Regions from separate parts of the Homo sapiens genome. Here region 1 is linked to region 2. Evidence: promoter capture Hi-C in human tissues and cell types (Jung and others, 2019). All regions are on one chromosome and are shown on one strand. The core of a region is centred on a gene start or on the middle of the fragment in contact, and the rest is flanking DNA. Distances in the headings are between cores, read along the strand shown. Region 1 holds the start of LOC105372405 (a long non-coding RNA gene). Region 2 holds the start of CEACAM5 (CEA cell adhesion molecule 5).

Region 1 (5,489 bases), core at 690-3,189, 47 kb before region 2:
TCAGGATTAAGAAACTCACTCAAAACCGCACAACTACATGGAAACTGAACAATCTGCTCCTGAGTGACTACTGGGTAAATAACAAAATTAAGGCAGAAATAAATAAGTTCTTTGAAACCAATGAGAACAAAGACACAAGGTACCAGAATCTCTGGGATACAGATAAAGCAGTGTTTAGAGGGAAATTGTAGCACTAAATGCCCACATGAGAAAGTGGGAAAGATCTAAAATTGACACCCTAACATCACAATTAAAAGAACTAGAGAAGCAAGAGCAAACACATTCAAAAGCTAGTGGAAGACAAGAAATAACTAAGACCAGAGCAGAACTGAAGGAGATAGAGACATGAAAAACCCTTCAAAAAATCAATGAATCCAGGAGCTGGTTTTTTAAAAAGATTAACAAAATAGATAGACCACTATCCAGACTAATAAAGAAGAAAAGAGAGAAGAATCAAACAAACACAATAAAAAATGATAAAGGGGATATCGCCACTGATCCCACAGAAATACAAACTACCATCAGAGAATACTATAAACACCTCTATGCAAATACAGTAGAAAATCTGGAAGAAATAGATAAATTCCTGGACACATACACCCTCCCAAGACTAAATCATGAAGAAGTCAAATCCCTGAATAGACCAATAACAAGTTCTGAAATTGAGGCAGTAATTAATAGCCTACCAACCAAAAAAAAAAATAGACCAATAACAAGTTCTGAAATTGAGACAGGCAGTAATAGCCTACCAACCAACAAAAGCCCAGCACCAGATGGATTCACAGCCAAATTCTACCAAAGGTACAAAGACGAGCTGGTACCATTCCTTCTGAAACTATTACAAACACTAGAAAAAGAGGGACACCTCTCTAACTCATTTTATGAGGCCAGCATCATCCTGATACAAAAACCTCGCAGAGACACAACAAGAAAATAATATTTCAGGCCAATATCCCTGATAAACATTGATGCAAAAATCCTCAATAAAATACTGGCAAACTGAATCCAGCAGCACATAAAAAGAGCTTATCCACCATGATCAAGTCAGATTCACCCCTGGGATGCAAGGCTGTTTCAACATATGCAAATCAATAAACGTAATCCATCACATAAACAGAACCAGTGAGAAAAAACACATGATTATCTCAATAGATGCGGAAAAGGCCTTTGATAAAATTCAACACAACTTCATGCTAAAAACACTCCATAAACTAGGTACTGATGGAACATATCTCAAAATAATAAGAGCTGTTTATGACAAACTCACAGCCAGTATCATAATGAATGGGCAAAAGCTGGAAACACTCCCTTTGAAAACCGTCAGAAGACAAGGATGCCCTCTGTCACCACTCCTATTCAACATAGTATTGGAAATTCTGGTCAGGGAAATCAGCAAGAGAAAGAAAAAAGGGGTATTTATATAAGAAGAGAGGAAGTCAAATTGTCTCTGTTTGCAGATGACATGAATTGTATATTTAGAAAATCCCATTGTCTAATCCCCAAAACTCCTTGATAAACAACTTCAGCAAAGTCTCAGGATACAAAATCCATGTGCAAAAATCACAAGCACATCTATACACCAATAATAGACAAACAGAGCCAAATCATAAGTGAATTCCCCTTCACAATTGCTACAAAGAGAATAAAATACCTAGGAATACAACTTACAAGGGATGTGAATGACCTCTTCAAGGAGAACTACAATCCACTGCTCAAAGAAATAAGAGATGACACAAACAAATGGAAGAACATTCCATGCTCATGGATAGAGAGAATCAATATCGTGAAAATGGCCATACTGCCCAAAGTAGTGTATAGCTTCAATGCTATTCCCATCAAGCTACCATTGACTTTCTTCACAGAATTAGAAAAAACTACTTTAAATTTCATATGGAAACAAAAAAGATCCCACATAGCCAAGACAATCCTAAGCAAAATGAACAAAGCTGGAGACATCATGCTGCCTGACTTCAAACTATACTACAAGCCTACAGTAACCAAAAGAGCATGGTACTGGTACCAAAACAGATACGTAGACGAATGGAACAGAGCAGAGGCCTCAGAAATAACACTACACATCTACAACCATCTGATCTTTGACATATGCAGGAAACTGAAACTGGACCGCTTCTTTACACTTTATACAAAAATTAACTCAAGACGGATTAAAGACTTGAACATAAGAACTAAAATCACAAAACCCTTAGAAGAAAACCTAGACAATATCATTCAGGACACAGGCATGGGCAAAGACTTCATGACTAAAACACCAAAAGTAATGGCAACAAAAGCCAAAATTGACAAATAGGATCTAATTAAACTAAAAGCTTCTGCACAGCAAAAGAAACTATCAGCAAAATTAACAGGCAACCTACAGAATGGGAGAAAATTTTTACAATCTATCCATCTGACAAAGGGCTAATATCCAGAATCCACAAAGAACTTAAATAAATTTACAAGAAAAAACTAAACAACTTCATCAAAAAGTAGGCAAAGGATATGAACAGACACTTCTCAAAAGAAGACAACATTTATGCGGCCAAAAAACATATGAACAGACACAGAGCCAAACCATCACTGGTCATTAGAGACACGCAAATCAAAACCACAGTAAGATGCTATCTCATGGCAGTTAGAATGGTGATCATTAAAAAGTCAGGAAACAACAGATGCTGAAGAGGATTGGAGAAATAGGAATGTTTTACACTGTTGGTGGGAATGTAAATTAGTTCAGCTATTGTGGAAGACACTGTGGTGATTCCTCACAGATCTAGAACCAGAAATACCATTTGACCCAGCAATCCCATTATTGGGTATATACCCAAAGGATTATAAATCATTTTGCTATAAAGACACATGCATACGTATGTTTATTGCAGCATTATTCACCATAGCAATGACTTGGAACCAACCCAAATGCCCATCAATGATACACTGGATAAAGAAAATGTGGCACATATACACCATGGAATACTATACAACCATAAAAAAGAATGAGTTCATGCCCTTTGCAGGGACATGAAATGAAACCATTATTCTCAGCAAACCAACACAGGAACAGAAAACCAAACACGCTTGTTTTCACTCATAAATGGGAGTTGAACAATGAGAACATATGGGCACAGAGAGGGGAACATCACACACTGGAGCCTGTCAGGGGTGGAGGGCTAGGGGAGGGATAGCATTAGGAGAAATACCTAATGTAGATGACGGGTAGATGGGTGCAGCAAACTACCATGACACATTTATACCTAAGTAACAAACCTTCACGTTCTGCACATGTATCCCAGAACTTAAAGGATAATTTTTTAAAAATAAAGAAAAAGAAAGAGCTTTAATTGGACTCACAGTTTCACGTGGCTGGGGAGAATCATGGCAGAAGTCAAGGAGAAGCAAGTCACATCTTATGTGGATGGCAGCAGGCAAAAAGAGAATGAGAGCCAAGAGAAACAGGTTTCCTGTTATCAAACCATCAGATATCATGAGACTTATTCACTACCACAAGAACAGTATGAAAGAAACCGCCCCCGTGACTCAATTATCTCTCACTGGGTCCCTCCCACAACACATGGGAATTATGGGAGTATGATTCAAGATGAGAATTGGGTAGGGACACAGAGTCAAACCATATTATTCCACCACTGGCTCCTGCCAAATCTCATGTCCTCACATTTCAAAACTAATCATTTCTTCCCAACAGTCCCCCAAAGTCTTAACTCGTTCAGTATTAACTCAAGAGTCCACATTCCAAAGTCTCAACTGAGACAAGGCAAGTCTCTTCCACCTATGAGTCTGTAAAATCAAAAGCAGATTAGCTACTTCCTAGATACAGTGGAGGTACAGGCATTGGGTAAACACAGCCATTCCAAATGGGAGAAATTGGCCAAAACAAAGGGGCTACAGGGCCCATGCAAGTCCAAAATCCAGGGGGGCAGTCGAGTCTTAAAGCTCCAAAATGATCTCCTTTGACTGCATGTCTCACATCCAGGTAATGCTGATGCAAAATACGGGTATCCATGGTCTTGGGCAGCCCTGCCCCTGTGGCAGTTCCACATGGCTGGAGAGGCCTCAGAATCATGGCAGAAGTCAAGGAGAAGCAAGTCACATCTTATGTGGATGGCAGCAGGCAAAAAGAGAATGAGAGCCAAGTGAAACGGGTTTCCCCTTATCAAACCATCAGATCTCATGAGACTTATTCACTACCATGAGAACAGTATGGGAGAAACTGCCCCCCACCAGGTGCCTCCCACAACACGTAGGAATTATGGGAGTACAATTCAGGATGAGATTTGGGTGGGGACACAGAGCCAAACCATATCACCATCAAAATACCACCGTCATTTTTCACAGAACTAGAAAAAACAATCTGAAAATTCATATGGAACCAAAAAAGAGCCCATGTAACCAAAGTAAGACTAAGCAAAAAGAAGAAATCTGGTGGCATCACATCATCTGATTTCAAACTATACTATAAGGCCATAGTCACTAAAACAGCATTGTACTGGTATAAAAGTAGACACATAGACCAACGGAACAGAATAGAGAACCCAGAAATAAACCCAAATACTTACAGCCAACTGATCTTTGACAAAGCAAACAAAAACAAGAAGTGGAGAAAGGACACCCTATTCAACAAATGGTGCTGGGATAATTGGCAAGCCACATGTAGGAGAATGAAATGATTCTCCTCTCTCACCTTATACAAAAATTAACTCAAGATGGATCAAGGACTTAAATTTAAGACCTGAAACTATAAAAATTCTCAAAGATAACATCGGAAAAGCCCTTCTAGACATGGGCTTAGGCAAAGATTTTATGACCAAGAACCCAAAAGCAAAGGCAACAAAAACAAAGATAAATAGGTGGGACTTAATTAAACTAAACGGCCTTTGCACAGCCAAAGGAATAGTTAGCAGAGTAAAAAGACAACCCCACAGAGTGAGAGAAAATCTTCACAATCTGTACCTCTGACAAAGGATTAATATCCAGAATCTACAAGGATCTCAAACAAATTAGAAAGAAAAAACAAACTATCCCATCAAAAAGTGGGCTAAGAACATGAATAGACAATTCTCAAAAGAAGATATACAAATGGCCAATGTGAAAAAATGTTCAACATTACTAATGACCAGGCAAATACAAGTCAAAACCATAATGCAATGCCACCTTACTCCCACAAGAATGGCCATAATCAAAAAATTAAAAAATAATAGAAGTTGGTGTGGATGCAGTGAAAAGGGAACACTTCAACACTGCTGGTGGGAATGTAAACTAGTACAACCACTATGGAAAAGAGTGTGGAGATTCCTTAAAGAACTAAAAGTAGAAATACTATTTGATCCAGCAATACCACTACTGGGTGTCTGCCCAGATGAAGAGAAATCATTATGCAAAAAAGATACTTGCACCCACATATTTATAGCAGCAATTTCCAATTGAAAAAATATGGAACCAGCTCAAATGCCCATCAATCAATGAGTGGATTAAGA
Region 2 (5,478 bases), core at 2,979-5,478:
TCTCCCATATGCCCATACCAGGCCTGTGAACAGAATCCTCCTTCTGCAGTGACAATGTCTGAGAGGACGACATGTTTCCCAGCCTAACGTGCAGCCATGCCCATCTACCCACTGCCTACTGCAGGACAGCACCAACCCAGGAGCTGGGAAGCTGGGAGAAGACATGGAATACCCATGGCTTCTCACCTTCCTCCAGTCCAGTGGGCACCATTTATGCCTAGGACACCCACCTGCCGGCCCCAGGCTCTTAAGAGTTAGGTCACCTAGGTGCCTCTGGGAGGCCGAGGCAGGAGAATTGCTTGAACCCGGGAGGCAGAGGTTGCAGTGAGCCGAGATCACACCACTGCACTCCAGCCTGGGTGACAGAATGAGACTCTGTCTCAAAAAAAAAGAGAAAGATAGCATCAGTGGCTACCAAGGGCTAGGGGCAGGGGAAGGTGGAGAGTTAATGATTAATAGTATGAAGTTTCTATGTGAGATGATGAAAATGTTCTGGAAAAAAAAATATAGTGGTGAGGATGTAGAATATTGTGAATATAATTAACGGCATTTAATTGTACACTTAACATGATTAATGTGGCATATTTTATCTTATGTATTTGACTACATCCAAGAAACACTGGGAGAGGGAAAGCCCACCATGTAAAATACACCCACCCTAATCAGATAGTCCTCATTGTACCCAGGTACAGGCCCCTCATGACCTGCACAGGAATAACTAAGGATTTAAGGACATGAGGCTTCCCAGCCAACTGCAGGTGCACAACATAAATGTATCTGCAAACAGACTGAGAGTAAAGCTGGGGGCACAAACCTCAGCACTGCCAGGACACACACCCTTCTCGTGGATTCTGACTTTATCTGACCCGGCCCACTGTCCAGATCTTGTTGTGGGATTGGGACAAGGGAGGTCATAAAGCCTGTCCCCAGGGCACTCTGTGTGAGCACACGAGACCTCCCCACCCCCCCACCGTTAGGTCTCCACACATAGATCTGACCATTAGGCATTGTGAGGAGGACTCTAGCGCGGGCTCAGGGATCACACCAGAGAATCAGGTACAGAGAGGAAGACGGGGCTCGAGGAGCTGATGGATGACACAGAGCAGGGTTCCTGCAGTCCACAGGTCCAGCTCACCCTGGTGTAGGTGCCCCATCCCCCTGATCCAGGCATCCCTGACACAGCTCCCTCCCGGAGCCTCCTCCCAGGTGACACATCAGGGTCCCTCACTCAAGCTGTCCAGAGAGGGCAGCACCTTGGACAGCGCCCACCCCACTTCACTCTTCCTCCCTCACAGGGCTCAGGGCTCAGGGCTCAAGTCTCAGAACAAATGGCAGAGGCCAGTGAGCCCAGAGATGGTGACAGGGCAATGATCCAGGGGCAGCTGCCTGAAACGGGAGCAGGTGAAGCCACAGATGGGAGAAGATGGTTCAGGAAGAAAAATCCAGGAATGGGCAGGAGAGGAGAGGAGGACACAGGCTCTGTGGGGCTGCAGCCCAGGATGGGACTAAGTGTGAAGACATCTCAGCAGGTGAGGCCAGGTCCCATGAACAGAGAAGCAGCTCCCACCTCCCCTGATGCACGGACACACAGAGTGTGTGGTGCTGTGCCCCCAGAGTCGGGCTCTCCTGTTCTGGTCCCCAGGGAGTGAGAAGTGAGGTTGACTTGTCCCTGCTCCTCTCTGCTACCCCAACATTCACCTTCTCCTCATGCCCCTCTCTCTCAAATATGATTTGGATCTATGTCCCCGCCCAAATCTCATGTCAAATTGTAAACCCCAATGTTGGAGGTGGGGCCTTGTGAGAAGTGATTGGATAATGCGGGTGGATTTTCTGCTTTGATGCTGTTTCTGTGATAGAGATCTCACATGATCTGGTTGTTTAAAAGTGTGTAGCACCTCTCCCCTCTCTCTCTCTCTCTCTTACTCATGCTCTGCCATGTAAGACGTTCCTGTTTCCCCTTCACCGTCCAGAATGATTGTAAGTTTTCTGAGGCCTCCCCAGGAGCAGAAGCCACTATGCTTCCTGTACAACTGCAGAATGATGAGCGAATTAAACCTCTTTTCTTTATAAATTACCCAGTCTCAGGTATTTCTTTATAGCAATGCGAGGACAGACTAATACAATCTTCTACTCCCAGATCCCCGCACACGCTTAGCCCCAGACATCACTGCCCCTGGGAGCATGCACAGCGCAGCCTCCTGCCGACAAAAGCAAAGTCACAAAAGGTGACAAAAATCTGCATTTGGGGACATCTGATTGTGAAAGAGGGAGGACAGTACACTTGTAGCCACAGAGACTGGGGCTCACCGAGCTGAAACCTGGTAGCACTTTGGCATAACATGTGCATGACCCGTGTTCAATGTCTAGAGATCAGTGTTGAGTAAAACAGCCTGGTCTGGGGCCGCTGCTGTCCCCACTTCCCTCCTGTCCACCAGAGGGCGGCAGAGTTCCTCCCACCCTGGAGCCTCCCCAGGGGCTGCTGACCTCCCTCAGCCGGGCCCACAGCCCAGCAGGGTCCACCCTCACCCGGGTCACCTCGGCCCACGTCCTCCTCGCCCTCCGAGCTCCTCACACGGACTCTGTCAGCTCCTCCCTGCAGCCTATCGGCCGCCCACCTGAGGCTTGTCGGCCGCCCACTTGAGGCCTGTCGGCTGCCCTCTGCAGGCAGCTCCTGTCCCCTACACCCCCTCCTTCCCCGGGCTCAGCTGAAAGGGCGTCTCCCAGGGCAGCTCCCTGTGATCTCCAGGACAGCTCAGTCTCTCACAGGCTCCGACGCCCCCTATGCTGTCACCTCACAGCCCTGTCATTACCATTAACTCCTCAGTCCCATGAAGTTCACTGAGCGCCTGTCTCCCGGTTACAGGAAAACTCTGTGACAGGGACCACGTCTGTCCTGCTCTCTGTGGAATCCCAGGGCCCAGCCCAGTGCCTGACACGGAACAGATGCTCCATAAATACTGGTTAAATGTGTGGGAGATCTCTAAAAAGAAGCATATCACCTCCGTGTGGCCCCCAGCAGTCAGAGTCTGTTCCATGTGGACACAGGGGCACTGGCACCAGCATGGGAGGAGGCCAGCAAGTGCCCGCGGCTGCCCCAGGAATGAGGCCTCAACCCCCAGAGCTTCAGAAGGGAGGACAGAGGCCTGCAGGGAATAGATCCTCCGGCCTGACCCTGCAGCCTAATCCAGAGTTCAGGGTCAGCTCACACCACGTCGACCCTGGTCAGCATCCCTAGGGCAGTTCCAGACAAGGCCGGAGGTCTCCTCTTGCCCTCCAGGGGGTGACATTGCACACAGACATCACTCAGGAAACGGATTCCCCTGGACAGGAACCTGGCTTTGCTAAGGAAGTGGAGGTGGAGCCTGGTTTCCATCCCTTGCTCCAACAGACCCTTCTGATCTCTCCCACATACCTGCTCTGTTCCTTTCTGGGTCCTATGAGGACCCTGTTCTGCCAGGGGTCCCTGTGCAACTCCAGACTCCCTCCTGGTACCACCATGGGGAAGGTGGGGTGATCACAGGACAGTCAGCCTCGCAGAGGACAGAGACCACCCAGGACTGTCAGGGAGAACATGGACAGGCCCTGAGCCGCAGCTCAGCCAACAGACACGGAGAGGGAGGGTCCCCCTGGAGCCTTCCCCAAGGACAGCAGAGCCCAGAGTCACCCACCTCCCTCCACCACAGTCCTCTCTTTCCAGGACACACAAGACACCTCCCCCTCCACATGCAGGATCTGGGGACTCCTGAGACCTCTGGGCCTGGGTCTCCATCCCTGGGTCAGTGGCGGGGTTGGTGGTACTGGAGACAGAGGGCTGGTCCCTCCCCAGCCACCACCCAGTGAGCCTTTTTCTAGCCCCCAGAGCCACCTCTGTCACCTTCCTGTTGGGCATCATCCCACCTTCCCAGAGCCCTGGAGAGCATGGGGAGACCCGGGACCCTGCTGGGTTTCTCTGTCACAAAGGAAAATAATCCCCCTGGTGTGACAGACCCAAGGACAGAACACAGCAGAGGTCAGCACTGGGGAAGACAGGTTGTCCTCCCAGGGGATGGGGGTCCATCCACCTTGCCGAAAAGATTTGTCTGAGGAACTGAAAATAGAAGGGAAAAAAGAGGAGGGACAAAAGAGGCAGAAATGAGAGGGGAGGGGACAGAGGACACCTGAATAAAGACCACACCCATGACCCACGTGATGCTGAGAAGTACTCCTGCCCTAGGAAGAGACTCAGGGCAGAGGGAGGAAGGACAGCAGACCAGACAGTCACAGCAGCCTTGACAAAACGTTCCTGGAACTCAAGCTCTTCTCCACAGAGGAGGACAGAGCAGACAGCAGAGACCATGGAGTCTCCCTCGGCCCCTCCCCACAGATGGTGCATCCCCTGGCAGAGGCTCCTGCTCACAGGTGAAGGGAGGACAACCTGGGAGAGGGTGGGAGGAGGGAGCTGGGGTCTCCTGGGTAGGACAGGGCTGTGAGACGGACAGAGGGCTCCTGTTGGAGCCTGAATAGGGAAGAGGACATCAGAGAGGGACAGGAGTCACACCAGAAAAATCAAATTGAACTGGAATTGGAAAGGGGCAGGAAAACCTCAAGAGTTCTATTTTCCTAGTTAATTGTCACTGGCCACTACGTTTTTAAAAATCATAATAACTGCATCAGATGACACTTTAAATAAAAACATAACCAGGGCATGAAACACTGTCCTCATCCGCCTACCGCGGACATTGGAAAATAAGCCCCAGGCTGTGGAGGGCCCTGGGAACCCTCATGAACTCATCCACAGGAATCTGCAGCCTGTCCCAGGCACTGGGGTGCAACCAAGATCACACAAATCCCTGCCCTCATGAAGCTCATGCTCTCATGGGGAGGAAGACAGACATACAAAGAGATCTAGAATGTGAGGTCAGGTGTTGACAAGAGCCCTGGAGGGAATAGAGCAGGGAAAGGTCAGAAAAGGAAGACCCAGGGTCTCTAGAGGAGGTGTCAGGGAAGGGATCTCCCAAGAATGCCCTGATGTGAGCAGGACCTGAAGGCAATGGGGAGGGAGCCGTGAAGACCCCTGGAAAAGCAGATTCCACACAGGGAAATGCCAAGGTCAGAGGTGCTAAGGAAATAGGAGACACACTGCTGACCTTGACCTAGTAGGACACACACACACACACACACACACACACACTCACTCACTCCAGGGCTGGGGGATGAAGAGACCTGCTCAGGACCCAGGACCCCATTTTTCCACCCTAATGCATAGGTCCCAATATTGACCGATGCTCTCTGCTCTCTCCTAGCCTCACTTCTAACCTTCTGGAACCCGCCCACCACTGCCAAGCTCACTATTGAATCCACGCCGTTCAATGTCGCAGAGGGGAAGGAGGTGCTTCTACTTGTCCACAATCTGCCCCAGCATCTTTTTGGCTACAGCTGGTACAAAGGTGAAAGAGTGGATGGCAACCGTCAAATTATAGGATATGTAATAGGAACTCA

The links. Contacts are between HindIII fragments. The study calls those that stand out against the background at their distance.
Region 1: a fragment that was not itself captured here is called in contact with the fragment with the promoter of CEACAM5 in region 2 in 1 of the 25 tissues and cell types used here (mesendoderm cells).

Annotation. Positions count from the first base shown.
Region 1 is chr19:41,659,863-41,665,351 of GRCh38, forward strand. LOC105372405 (a long non-coding RNA gene) reads right to left here and starts at 3,388. Exons shown (of 3, transcript XR_935972.1): 1 at 3,349-3,388. The HindIII fragment of the contact is 7,122 bases long and covers 1-5,489 here.
Region 2 is chr19:41,704,398-41,709,875 of GRCh38, forward strand. CEACAM5 (CEA cell adhesion molecule 5) reads left to right here and starts at 4,229. Exons shown (of 10, transcript NM_004363.6): 1 at 4,229-4,398; 2 at 5,283-5,478. The coding sequence starts at 4,335. RefSeq lists silencers at 2,350-2,469, 2,490-2,539, 2,570-2,619. The HindIII fragment of the contact is 20,290 bases long and covers 1-5,478 here.